Regions from separate parts of the Homo sapiens genome. Here all the other regions are linked to region 2. The links are contacts of gene promoters, found by promoter capture Hi-C in human tissues and cell types (Jung and others, 2019). All regions are on one chromosome and are shown on one strand. The core of a region is centred on a gene start or on the middle of the fragment in contact, and the rest is flanking DNA. Distances in the headings are between cores, read along the strand shown. Region 1 overlaps BPTF (bromodomain PHD finger transcription factor). Region 2 holds the start of C17orf58 (chromosome 17 open reading frame 58). Region 3 holds the start of BPTF (bromodomain PHD finger transcription factor).

Region 1 (4,820 bases), core at 742-3,241, 140 kb before region 2:
GGAAACCCCTTCTATACTAAAAATACAAAAAAAATTAGCCGGGCATGGTGGTGGGCACCTGTAGTCCCAGCTACTCGGGAGGCTGAGGCAGGAGAATCACTTGAACCTAGGTGACAGACGTTGCAGTGAGCTGAGATCGTGCCACTGCACTCCAGCCTGGGCAACAGAGCAAGACTCCATCTCAGAAAAAAAAAAATTCAGGTTCTCAGACTCTATTCTAGGCCTATTGAATCAGTGACATATGCACTCTGAAGTTTGAGAACCACTGTTTTAAGGCTTCTCACTGTAGTCCTGTATTTACTTACGTAGAAATCAAAACACATTTCTAATGTTGTCAGATAATGCAAGGATATCATTTTCTTGTGTAAGTGCATGGGCTAGCACTTTCAAAACTACTAATTCTTGTAATAAATGTTTATTTAATAGCTTATTATATGCTAGCCACTACTTAACATTGGCAAACTTAAAAAATCCCTGTCGTTAAGGAGATTATATTCTAGTGGTGATATTAACTACTAGTTCATGTATGTATTCATCCGTAAGTAGTATATAAACTGTATTTCCATGGTTTTATATTGTAAAACTTAACTTTTCTTTTGCCTCATGGTGTTTTTGTTTGTTTGTTTGTTTTCTGAGACAGAGTCTCGCTCTGTTGCCTAGGCTGGCAGTAGCATGATCTCGGCTCACTGCAACCTCCGTCTCCTGGGTTCAAGCGGTTCTTCTGCCTCAGCCTCCCAAGTAGCTGGGAGTACAGGTGTGTGCCACCATGCCCAGCTAATTTTTGTATTTTTCTTAGAGACGGGGTTTCACCATATTGGCCAGGCTAGTCCGGAACTCCTGACCTCGTGATCTGCCCACCTTGGACTCCCAAAGTGCTAGGATTACGGGCATGAGCCACTGTACCTGGCCCTGTGTTTTTGTTTTTAAGATTGATCCATGTTGATATGCATAGCCCTAAATTACTCAAAATTGATCTACAGAATTCTATCCAATGAATAAGCCACAATTTGACTGTTTTCCTGTTGATGGACATTTTGGTTGTTTTCAGCTTGGTTGATTGTTTCTTTGCTTTTATAAACATATTAAATGCTCTGCATTGTTCTGTGTGGGAAACATGCTAGGGGAGAAGAAAAGACACACACACAATACCTTTAAGGGTAAACAAGCTTTATCCCATGTAAATGGCAATGCAGATATAATAAACAAATGATATAATAAGCAAATTGATACAATAAGCAAATTGTAATGGAAAGAGGAGAAGGGAAAAGAGGTATATATATTTACACTCACCAGACTATGGAGGATTCATCACCAGACTGGGAAGCAACAGCCTGGGCTCCAGAGTCGGCCACTTATCTGTGCACAGACAAGGAGAGGTCTCATGAAGCTTCGGCAGAGTCTGGGACCCTAGCTCTTTTTGTAACGAGTTGTTTGGCATGAGGTCCAGTCACAAGGGGCCTTCGTGACTGGGCTCAAGGAACACAAAAAGGTCAACTTGTTTTTGCGATTTTCTGCTTTTTTTTTTTTTTTTTTAATAACCACCATATAGGAATAGACTGAAATAGAGATTTCTCTGAAACAGTGCTGGATGAACGCCTCAAGGGGCTCACACAACCTTTTCCAAGACTTGGTGACCATTGTTTGTGTGCACGTTCAATTGAGTTCAGATTTAATATTTAACTTTTCCTCCACATGCGTATGCATAAGGATAGTTTCTCTAGAGAAGTGTTTTTCTAATTGTGAGCTGCAAGCAGCATGTTTTAAAAGTAGAAAGAGAATAGAATAGAAAATGTTGGTAGGAGAGAAGATATTAGTATAAGGCATGTAGTGAGAATAGTGTTTTATAGAGCTTTTGTTTTCAGGGGTATGTGTACTGGATAAGATGTAAAATATATTTCTTACTTTGGTTGTGGGCAAACAGGTGTGCAGGCTGTTCAGTTATAAGCAGAACCTTAAACTTGACAATCCTGAATTTCTCTCTGAAGTTGTGATACCAGTTTACAGTCCCAGTGGTGGTATACTGGTGTTTCCATTGTTTTGCATCCTTCCCAACAGTTTGTTTGGTTAAACTGTTAAATTTTTTTCCATTGAGGAGTCTGAGAACAGTTATCTCATTGTGGTTTTACTTTGCCTTTCCTTGCTAACTAGTGAGATTGGGGTCCTTTTTTTTTTTTAATGCAGGAAAATTAATATAATTCACCTGGTAGAGAGATACCAGATTAGTGTTGAAATTGATAATGAGTGTAATGCTCAGTGGCATATTCTAAATACACTTCTGTGAAGAAGTGAAATGACTTGACTTGCTAATACTAATGATTGACAGTTGAGGGGCTTAAGTGGTTTAATTTAATGTCGTTCTCTCTTTAAACACTGTAGTCTATGTTCAATTCTATAAACTTGAATCTTTGAATTTAGTATAATGACGTTGTATTTATACAAGACTATGAGTAGTCATTAGTGGCAGCATCATTTTATTGATTTGAGTATTAATATTTTTATATTTTTATAGATACCTGTCCAATTTTTTCTTTTAAAATTTTATAACGAAAATACATGTATGAATTATTTTTTAAAGTATAAAAAAGTAAAAAGAAATTAGTCTTCTTTTCCTGTCCCCCGACTCTCCCCAGAAGCAAGTACTATAAAAAGATTCTTATATGACCTCTTAGATATATATATACCTTATCACTATCCCCTTGCCCTCCTTTTTATTTTTAGTTTATTTATTCAAATGACATTCTATTCATTGTTCTGTAGCTGTTCATTCCTTCTGCTTAACACTGTATCTTAAAGATTGTTTCATTTTAACACATAGGAATTTTACCACTACTGAATTTGATTCCATTCTGTAGATGCATCATAATTCATTTGACTATTTATGTATATTTAGATTAAAAAGAAAACCCACATAAAAATTTCAGCTTTTGTAAACTATATTGAATTAAATATTTTGTACTTAAATGAATGTGTGACTACAGGATAAGTTCCAGGAGGTGGAATTACAGGGTCAAAGGGACATACATTCAGATAGATGTTTGCCAAATTACCTTCTAAAAATCCAACCAATTTATACTCTCCCAAAAATAGATCAGAATGGGCCGGGTGCGGTGGCTCACGCCTGTAATCCTGGCACTTTGGCAGGCCGAGGTGGGTGGACCACCTGAGGTCAGGAGTTCGAGACCAGCCTAGCCAATATGGTGAAACCCCATCTCTACTAAAAAATACAAAAATTAGCTGGGGTGGTGGCGCCTGCCTGTAGTCCCAGCTACTCAGGAGGCTGAGGCAGGAGACTCACTTGAACTTGAGAGGCGGAGGTCGCAGTGAGCCGAGGTCACGCCACCATACTCCAGCCTAGGCGACGGCTGTAGGTGATTAAATGAGATAGATACGTTTGTTAAAAACAAAACTCTCAGTTATTTATATTGATACATTTATATACTTACATATGTATATCTGGACATCACATCTCATAATTGGAGAACAGGTATCTAAAAAGTTGTTTAACTGACTGTTAAGAAATGTAGTCTGTTGTCTGTTTCCTAGGTAAGCCACTTTTCTTTTCCCCCAGCATTGGAATTCTTCTCTTTTCTCCTCCTCTGCACTTCCTTCCTTTCTGTCTTCACCTTGAGCCCATGCTTCGCTGTGGAACTCCACTTAGGAGGTACTTCTGACAAAAAAAGAGGTCTGCACTGGGAACTTCGTGTCTGGTTGTTGACAGGCATTTCTGTATTGCAGCTGACAGTGTGAGATCTATTGCCCCTACTTTGTGCTGTGTATCTTATGTGTAAATGTTTTTTCTCATTTATATTCTTGTCAAATCATTCACAAATGCAGTTATTTATTATTATTATTATTATTATTTCCTTAGAGATCCTTGTTCTGACACTGTTATTTTTTAATCATGATTACCTGTGAGCCTGTTAATCTCTCTAGGTAATTGAGAACTGATTATAATTTATAATTTTTTTACTTCTGGTTTATAATCTAATGGGAAAACTTTGCATTTAGATTTTCTATAGATTTAAAAATTAGAGCTGAATCATTGCTTCTTCGTATTATTTTAACTTGACAATTATTAAAGAAATGTACTTATGTATTTTAGGGGGGTATATGTTCAAATAGGAAATTTGTAGAAATGATGTAATGTATTGATTTGTAATGATGTCACGTCTTTATCTACAGGTAGGCGAAAACCAAGAGTACATCGGCCTCGTTCTCCTATATTGGAAGAAAAAGACATCCCGCCCCTTGAATTTCCCAAGTCCTCTGAGGATTTAATGGTGCCTAATGAGCATATAATGAATGTCATTGCCATTTACGAGGTACTGCGGAACTTTGGCACTGTTTTGAGATTATCTCCTTTTCGCTTTGAGGACTTTTGTGCAGCTCTGGTGAGCCAAGAGCAGTGCACACTCATGGCAGAGATGCATGTTGTGCTTTTGAAAGCAGTTCTGCGTGAAGAAGACACTTCCAATACTACCTTTGGACCTGCTGATCTGAAAGATAGCGTTAATTCCACACTGTATTTCATAGATGGGATGACGTGGCCAGAGGTGCTGCGGGTGTACTGTGAGAGTGATAAGGAGTACCATCACGTTCTTCCTTACCAAGAGGCAGAGGACTACCCATATGGACCAGTAGAGAACAAGATCAAAGTTCTACAGTTTCTAGTCGATCAGTTTCTTACAACAAATATTGCTCGAGAGGAATTGATGTCTGAAGGGGTGATACAGTATGATGACCATTGTAGGGTTTGTCACAAACTTGGGGATTTGCTTTGCTGTGAGACATGTTCAGCAGTATACCATTTGGAATGTGTG
Region 2 (4,288 bases), core at 994-3,493:
CTGCAAGAGGAGAGATGGGAGGGAGGCCCGGAGGCCTGGAAGTGAAGCAGGGAGAACCCGGACGCAGCGTCGCGGCCAAGCGGGGCACGCGCTTCCCAGGCCCCAAAGGAAGAAGGATACGAGGGTCTTGACCTCTAAGATTATAGCTTTTAAAATTACAACCCCCTATTTACTCTAAGACTAAACATGTCTTACAACACTGGTTAGATAACAAACTTTTTTGCCCTTCCTTTAATATATACGTATATGTGTGTATGTGTGCGTGTGCGTGTGTGTGTGTGTGTGTGTGTGTATATATATATATATATATAAAACATATATAAACATCCGCCTCTTTGCTATTTACAGTTTGTTGAGAAAGTACCAAGAGCAAACCCCAGGGGGAAAGGTCTCATATTACAGGTTCTCCTAATTCTTTAAGCGCCCCTGACAACAGAACTATTTGGTTTTCCCATCCATGTTTACACTGTCATCCCGGTCTCTGCAGAATCGAGCATTTGTAAGTGGATTTTTATCTGGCTTCTTGGACACCACTTACTGGTAAACCACAGCTAAGGAAGGTTTTAAAAGCTTGGCTGGGAGGCAGAGAGGCCCCTGGTTAAGTATAAAAGCACACGTCGCTTACATTTTTTTCCCCATTAGATGATGGAGGAAAGACTCCTAAATGGTATGGCATGAAAACAAATTTTTAAAATTATTAATGATTTTCCCTAGTTCTGCAGACAGGTTGGTGAGTAAACCTCAGCCAGCTTGGGAGCTGGGCACCTTTCCATACCAGTTACACAATTTCACCTCCTTGCTTGCCTGGGTCCCAGTGCCCTCCAAACAGGCAAGAACTAGCCTTTATTTTTCTCTCCCCTTGCATTAAAGAGATGGATCTGCCCATTTGCAGCTCTGGCAACACTTCATTTAAAGTTGATCAGTCTTGCCAAATCGATAATCTGCTTTAAAATCAGCTTTCACCCAGCAATAATAGCTGGTTAGAGTTCATGTTTTTGCAAAGAGGTTGATTCTGACTCATTATGTTGTTAAACGGTTGTGCCATGCACAGCTGAATAAAGTTCTGGTGGATATCCAATTCCTGACTGTCAACTGTTGACCTCACAACTGCTTCCCCATTGATATAACCATCTGTTGTCATGGGAAAGATTGTCTGATATTTGGGTTAAATGCCACTGAAGTCATTCAATTTCCATGTGGAAAAATAACCCAGAGTAAATTGCCCTGTGAGGTACGGAAACTGTTTTTCCCAGAGATAGCGAAGCCGACAGAACATCCAAATAAAAGCAAAACAAAAACACGATCCCCCAGAGAACCCCTCATTTCTTCACGGGCTGAGTAACTTAATTTCATTTCGTGCATGAAGTATAAGAGTGTGTGCGTGTTAGTTAAACCCCGGCTCAGGTGTCCCAAGGTTGTGCGCTGGGGCTGCGGGGAGAGCAAAGTGCCCGGGGCTGCCGGATTTCGGCCCCGCTTCCCCCCAGCCCTCCACAGCGCCCCCCGCAGCCCCTGCTCACCCAGTCGAGGGGGGCGGACCCCGCGGCGTCCTGCGAGCCCGGCCCGGGCACGGCTCCCGAAAGGCGCGCCACGACCCCTTTTGACACTTTCCCTCCTCCGTGATGGAGCAACTACTTAACATGCAAAGTTTTCCCCAGCCTGCCCGGCTTGCTCGGGATCATTTCAGTAGCTAAATTGGCTTCTTTCCGAAAAGGCTGCCAAGAGACACGAAACCTTGGGGACACACTTTGCTCCTTTATAAGACGAACGCAGACCCGGGGTGTCCTCTCTTGCGAGCTCTGACCCCCCTCCTCGTCCCACGTTTCACTGAGCCTCCTTCCCAGCTCCCCCCCACAGATCCCCGCTCCGCTCCCAGGGCCCCGCACTACACCAATCTTACTTTTTCTCTCCGCCACCGGTGCTTCGGGGGATGATCCGACGATCAAACAGAGGAGCCAGAAAGCTCTAGCTGTCATTTTTGCAGACAGGGTTCCCAGGCTCTAAAAGTGAGCCTGGTCTTTTGCTTGCTTTCTCTCCCCCAACCCCTTCTCCACACCCCCACCCCCGTTCATGCTAATGAGGGGCAGCCTTTGGGGAAACGGGAATCACTCGCTGAGCAGACCATTGGAACAAAACCGAGCCGCAGGGATTTCTCCCTCTTCCTTCCTAAGGAGGACGAGCACATGGCCTTGCAAAGTTGTCCCCGGGAATGTCTGTCCTGTGATCTGCGGGCGAGGAGAGCATCACAGCCTAAACTTTAAACCTGTGTGCGTTTGCGCGCTGGGGTGGGGGCAGCAAAGGGTGGGGTGACAAGTGCAGAGAATAAGCGTGTTTCGGGACTGAGGGACTGGGTGGGGGAGAACGAGTGACGGGAGCTTTTTTCTAGATTAGGTCAACAACAAATAGGAAAATAGTGCTTAAGACAGCGTGGGTTTGTGGAAGGGAGATTCCAGATGACAGAGAATGTATCCTGGAATGTGTGTGTTAGGCAATTTCTAGAGAAACCAAGTCACTGCTTCCTTAGTAAAACTGTTTCATTATATATCACAGCTCATTGTAACCTCTGCCTCCCGGACTAAAGCGATTCTCGTGCCTCAGCCTCTCAAGTAGCTGGGATTACAGGCATATGCCACCATGCGAGGCTAATTTTTGTATTTTTAGCAGAGACGGGATTTCACCGTGTTGGCCAGGCTGGTCTCAAACTCCTGACCTCAAGTGATCCACCCACCTTGGCCTCCCAAAGTGCTGGGATTACAGCATGAGCCACCACGCCGGGCCCAGAGGTCTAATTATTAATCAGAATGTTGCCTGTTGAGGCCAGGCAGGGTGGTTCATGCCTGTAATCCCAGTACTTTGGGAGCCCGAGACAGGAGGATCTCTTGAGCTCAGGAGTTCAAGACCAGCCTGAGCAACATGGAGAGAACCTGTCTCTACAAAAAATACAAAAATTAGCCAGGCATGGTGGCTCGCATCTGTGGTCCCAGCCACTTGGGAGGCTGAGGTGGGAGGATCACTTGAGCCTAGGAGGTGGAGGTTGCAGTGAGCCGAGATTGTGCCACTGCACTCCAGCCTGGGTGACAGAGAGAGGCCCTGTCTCAAAAAAAAAAAAAAAAAAAAAAGAAGAAGAAGAAGAAGAAGAAAGAAAAGAAAGAGGAGGAGCCAGGCACAGTGGCTCACGCCTGTAATCCCAGCATTTTGGGAGGCCAAGGCAGGCGGATCACGAGGTCAGGAGTTCAAGACCAGCCTGGCCAAATTAGTGCAACCCTGTCTCTACTAAAATTACAAAAAAGTTAGCAGGGTGTGGTGGCACACACCTGTAGTCCCAGCTACTCAGGAGGCTGAGGCAGGAGAATCGCTTGAACCTGGGAGGCAAAGGTTGCAGTGAGCTGAGACTATGCCATTGCACTCCAGCCTGGGTGATAGAGTGAGACTTTTGTCTCAAAAAGAAAAAAAAAAAGAGGAGGAGGAGGAGAACGAAGAAGAAGAAGAAGGAGAGCAGGGCCAGGTGTGGTGGCTCACGCCTGTAATCCCAGCACTTTGGGAGGACAAGGTGGGTCGATCACGAGGCCAGGAGATCCAGACCATCCTGGCTGACACAGTGAAACCCCGTCTCTACTGAAAATACAAAAAATTAGCCGGGCGTGGTGGCGGGCGCCTGTAGTCCCAGCTACTCAGGAGGCTGAGGCAGGAGACTGGCGTGAACCTGGGAGGCGGAGCTTGCAGTGTGGCGCCACTGCCCTGCCCTCCAGCCTGGGTGACAGAGTGAGACTCTGTCTCAAAAAAAAAAAAAAAAAAAAAAAAGAAGGAGAGGAGGAAGAGGAGGAGGAGGAGGAAAGAAGTTTGCCTGTTGAGCATTAAATCAAAGAAAATAAATTTGCTGGCTGGGTGCGGTGGCTCAACCTGTAATCCCAACACTCTGGGAGGCCAAGGTGGGCAGATCACGAGGTCAGGAGTTCGAGACCAGCCTGGCCAACATAGTAAAACCCCATATCTACTAAAAATACAAAAATTAGCGAGTCATGGTGGCGGGCACCTGTAATCCCAGCTACTTGGGAGGCTGAGGGAGGAGAATCGCTTGAACCCAGGAGGCAGAAGTTGCAGTGAGCCAAGACTGCGCCACTACACTCCAGCCTGGGCAACAGCACAGGACTCTGTCTCAAAAAAAAAAAAAAAAAAAGAAAAAGAAAAAGAAAAAAAAGAAAAGAAATTTGCCTGTTGAGCATTAAATCAAATTGCAGCTAAGGAGATGAGCTAATCTTCCCTCATTCAGGTGTTAGAGGAGTGAATTATA
Region 3 (4,511 bases), core at 1,964-4,463, 170 kb before region 2:
TTATTTCTTTTTTCTTTTTTTGAGACAGAGTCTCACTTTGTCGCCCAGGCTGGAGTACAGTGGTGCGATCTTGGCTCACTGCAACCTCCGTCTCCTGGGTTCAAGCGATTCTCCTGTCTCAGCCTCCAGAGTAGCTGGGATTACAGGCAAGTGCCACCACGTCCAGCTAATTTTTGTATTTTTAGTAGAGATGGGGTTGTACCATGTTGGTCAGGCTGATCTCGAACCCCTGACCTCAGGTGATCCGCCCGCCTCATCCTTCCAAAGTGCTGGGATTACAGGCATGAGCCACTGCGCCTGGTGGCTTATTTCAATCTAGATAGGAAAATATAACACATATGTGAAATGAAAAAATACAAGCACTAATTGCCAAATAAATGTATTCAATATAATTTGGTTGAGCACTATGGGTGACAAATCTGTATATGCCTCCAGGAACCAGGTAAGTAATGAAAGTCAACAAAGTAGGGGAAGATGAGGACTTGGCCAATGGAAGTGCCCCCCGCTTTTTTTTTTTTAGACAGACTTTCGCTCTGTTGCCCAGGCTGGAGTGCAGTGGTGTGATCTGCACTCACTACAACCTCCACCTCCCAGGTTAAGCGATTCTCCTGCCTCAGTCTTACAAATAGCTGGGACTACCGGTGCTCCATCACACCTGGCTAGTTTTTAGTAGAGACAGGGTTTCACCATGTTGACCAGGCTGGTCTCGAACTTCCGCCCTCAAGTGATCTGCCTGCCTTTGCCTCCCAAAGTGCTGGGATTACAGGCATGAGCCACCACGCCCGGCCCTGGCCCCGTATTTTGTTTAAAGAGGGTGGCTGGGCACAGTGGCTGTAGCTTGTAATCCCAGCACTTTGGGAGGGAGGCGGGTGGATTGCTTGAGCTTAGGAGTTTGCAGTGAACCAAGATCGCTGGGATATGCATATTTAAGGTTTCAATTTTTGTGTCTCCAAATAAAATTCTCAGTTCCTCACTACCTTTTTTTTTTTTTTGAGATAGAGTCTTGCTGTGTCACCCAGACTGGAGTCCAGTGGCACGATCTTGGCTCACTGCAGCCTCTGCCTCCTGGGTTTAAGCGATTCTCCTGTCCGCTTCCCAAGTAGTTGGGATTACACGCATGAGCCACCATGCCCAGCTAATTTTTGTATTTTTAGTAGACAGGATTTCACCATGTTGCCCAGGATAATCTCGAACTCCTGGGCTCAAGTGATCCGCCCACCTGGCCTCCTCAAGTGCTGGGATTACAGGCCTGAGCCACCGTGCCTGACCACCCTCTTCAAACAAAATATGGGCACCTCCATTGGCCTAGGTCTTCATCTTGCCTACTTTATTGACTTACATTACTTACCTGGTCCCTGGAGACATATACACATTTGTCACCCTTAGAGCTCGACCAAATTGTATTGAATGCATTTCTCTGGCAATTAGTGCTTGTATTTTAATTTTCATTTCACATATGTGTTCCATTTTCCTAACAAGACTGAAATAAGCCATTTGGTATGCAGAATTCTGTTAGATATTTTTATTTTTATTTTTTTGAGACGGAGTCTTGCTTTGTTGCCAGGCTGGAGTGCAGTGGTGCGATCTCGGCTCACTGCAACCTCCACCTCCCAGGCTCAAGCGATTCTTCTGCCTCAGCCTCTGGAGTAGCTGGGACTACAGGCACGCACCACCACGCCTGGCTAACTTTTGTATTTTTAGTACAGAACTTTTGCATTTTTAGTAGAGATGGGGTTTCACCATATTGGCCAGGCTGGTCTCAAACTCCTGCCCTGGTGATCCGCCCTCCTCAGCCTCCCAAAGTGCTGGGATTACAGGCGTGAGCCACCGCGCCCAGCATCTTTTTTAAAAAAAATTGAGACAGGGTCTTGCTCTGTCACCCAAGCTGGAGTGCAGTGGTGCAATCACGGCTCACTGCAACATCCACCTCCCAGGCTCAAGCAATCCTCCCACCTCAGCCTCTCGCTAGCTGGGACCACAGGTGCACACCACCATGCCCGGCTAATTTTTCAAATTTTTTCTAAAGACGAGGTCCTGCTATGTTGCCCAGGCTGGTCTTGAACTCTTGACCTCAAGCTATCATCCGGCCTTGGCCTCTCAAAGGACTGGGATTGCAGGTGTGAGCTACCACGCCCGGCCAACTATTTTTCTTTAAATTACTTTTCGGTTGTCACTTCTCTCAATAAATATTCATATGTTTATAACACCTTTCTCTTATCTAAAGAGCTGACCTCAACCACTCAGGGTTGAGTCGCTGTGATAAGGTTTGAGGGTGCCTGAAATGTCATCATGATTCGTCCTTTGGGCTAAGCTGAAACCTAGTGACTTGTCAGGTCAATAAATTAAGGTTATTTCCCGATAATACAAACATTTAACACCGTGAAGTAGGTTTTAGGCAGGATTCCCTCTTTTCCACTGCAAAGGAGAGGTAAGTTCTTGCTGAGGTGATCGAAGTCCTAGCTGGGGCACTGGGAAGGTGGCGGGACATTGGAACGTGCAGTAGTTGCGTTCTGGAGTTTACTGAGGCTTTCCCAGTGCGGATTCCACGCTACAGGTCTTAGGGCGCCCCTCCCTCCGGGCGTGGCAGCCCGGGGCGTGGCTCCTGGCACAGATCCGGAGCAGTTGTCATTGGAGTCATTTTCTGGACTCCAGCTCCATGCTTCAGAGTTTCCTAAGTTCAGGGGGCTTGTCTCTCTGTCCCCTCGACTAATTTCCCTCTGTCGCTGGCGCTGCCCGGTGCCCTCGGTCGCTTGGGCCGCCCCTCTCCGCGACTTTTTTTTTTCTTTCTCTCGCTGGCTCTTTCAGCATCAGTTTCCATAGGGGGAGGGAAGGGAATGATATTTGGGGGCTCCCTTGCCTTCCTCTCCGAGCCGCGAAAGGGGAGACGCGGGGAGGAGGTCCGGCCGGCTTTGGGCTCCAGCCAGCGGTCCGCGGAGACTTTGGTCTCCGAAGGCCTTTGACGCCGGGCATTTCGCGAGCTGCGCGCCCCTCTCAGCCGCGCCACCTGCGCCCGGAGTTTTGCCGCGCCACCCGCGCCCGGAGTCCAGCCGCACCGCGCTGTGCCGAGCCCAGGCGCCCAGGGCTCCCCGCCCCCGACTCGACGCTCCCGCGCTCCCCCTAGCGGCCGCCGCGCCGCTTCGCTCCGTCCCAGGCTCGTCGGCGGCGCAGCTCACGTGACCGCGCTCTGGGCCTGCGGCCGCTGTCGGTTCCCCCAGTCACCGAGCGAGAGGGAAGAAACAAGATGGCGGCTGAAGGCGATCCGGAGTGGGGCCCCAGCAATTCGGATTGAGCCTTCTCCCTCCACCCGCTTCCGTCGGCCGGGCCCCTCCCGCCCGGCCCCGCGGGCCTCCCCACCCGGCCCCGGCGCTCCCCACCGCCCCCCCTGCGCCCGCCCCTCCCCCTTCGCTTTCCTTCTCCCCCCGCCTCGGCTCCGACATGAGGGGCCGGCGGGGCAGGCCGCCCAAGCAGCCCGCGGCTCCCGCTGCGGAGCGCTGCGCCCCGGCCCCGCCGCCACCGCCGCCGCCGCCCACGTCCGGACCCATCGGGGGGCTCCGCTCGCGGCACCGCGGCAGCAGCCGGGGCAGGTGGGCCGCCGCCCAGGCTGAGGTGGCGCCCAAGACGCGGCTGAGCTCGCCCAGGGGGGGCAGCAGTAGCCGGAGGAAGCCGCCGCCGCCGCCGCCGGCCCCCCCCAGCACCAGCGCCCCGGGCCGGGGGGGGCGAGGAGGCGGGGGCGGCAGGACGGGGGGCGGGGGCGGCGGCGGCCACCTGGCCCGGACCACCGCGGCCCGGAGGGCCGTCAACAAAGTGGTGTACGATGACCACGAGAGCGAGGAGGAGGAGGAAGAGGAGGACATGGTCTCCGAGGAGGAGGAGGAGGAGGACGGCGACGCCGAGGAGACCCAGGATTCTGAGGACGACGAGGAGGATGAGATGGAAGAGGACGACGATGACTCCGATTATCCGGAGGAGATGGAAGACGACGACGACGACGCCAGTTACTGCACGGAAAGCAGCTTCAGGAGCCATAGTACCTACAGCAGCACTCCAGGTACCCACCCAGCCCAGTTGCTGCAGACTCCTTCCCCACCTCCTCTGCCCTCCCCCCTTGCTCACTCGTGTGCTGTGCATCCTGCTCCGATCTCCCCCCAACCCCGCCTCCCCCCCAAACAGAGGGGAAATGCGACGGCACATCAAGTGGCAAAAAACTAGATTTACAAGAGGAAAGAGGCGCATTGTTCAAAATGGAGATTGCATTGTTGCAGTTTGCAGGCCACACTCGCTCGCTCTCTCTCCCCCCCCCAACCCCCTTTTTTTCCTCTTCAAAATTTGTGCCAGTGCAGTGTCTCCACCGGGCAGGATTGAAACTTTGGCAAACACATATCCATTGCATTCATTTTTCTCCCCTTGTTTTGGTGTGGTTTTCTGGAATGAAAGAAGCCTCTTGTTTTGCAAACCTCTTTGCATTTCTAATGTGGTTTCTTTCGGATTTTTATTATATATCTGTTACTTAA

What was found. Contacts are between HindIII fragments. The study calls those that stand out against the background at their distance.
Region 1: a fragment that was not itself captured here is called in contact with the fragment with the promoter of C17orf58 in region 2 in 2 of the 25 tissues and cell types used here (H1 embryonic stem cells and lymphoblastoid cells).
Region 3: a contact is called between the fragment with the promoter of BPTF here and the fragment with the promoter of C17orf58 in region 2, in 1 of the 25 tissues and cell types used here (hippocampus).

The regions. Positions count from the first base shown.
Region 1 is chr17:67,849,758-67,854,577 of GRCh38, forward strand. It overlaps BPTF (bromodomain PHD finger transcription factor), which reads left to right. Exons shown (of 28, transcript NM_182641.4): 2 at 4,183-4,820. Among named protein-coding and RNA genes, the nearest start is that of BPTF, 27 kb to the left of the region's middle. The HindIII fragment of the contact is 3,560 bases long and covers 212-3,771 here.
Region 2 is chr17:67,994,226-67,998,513 of GRCh38, forward strand. It overlaps C17orf58 (chromosome 17 open reading frame 58), which reads right to left and starts at 2,244. Exons shown (of 4, transcript NM_001382359.1): 1 at 1,898-2,244. The coding sequence starts at 1,973. RefSeq lists a silencer at 1,474-1,563. The HindIII fragment of the contact is 9,773 bases long and covers 1-2,449 here.
Region 3 is chr17:67,822,290-67,826,800 of GRCh38, forward strand. It overlaps BPTF (bromodomain PHD finger transcription factor), which reads left to right and starts at 3,214. Exons shown (of 28, transcript NM_182641.4): 1 at 3,214-4,048. The coding sequence starts at 3,436. RefSeq lists enhancers at 2,462-3,159, 3,160-3,855, 3,818-4,087 and silencers at 3,068-3,137, 3,338-3,387, 3,568-3,767. The HindIII fragment of the contact is 39,315 bases long and covers 1-4,511 here.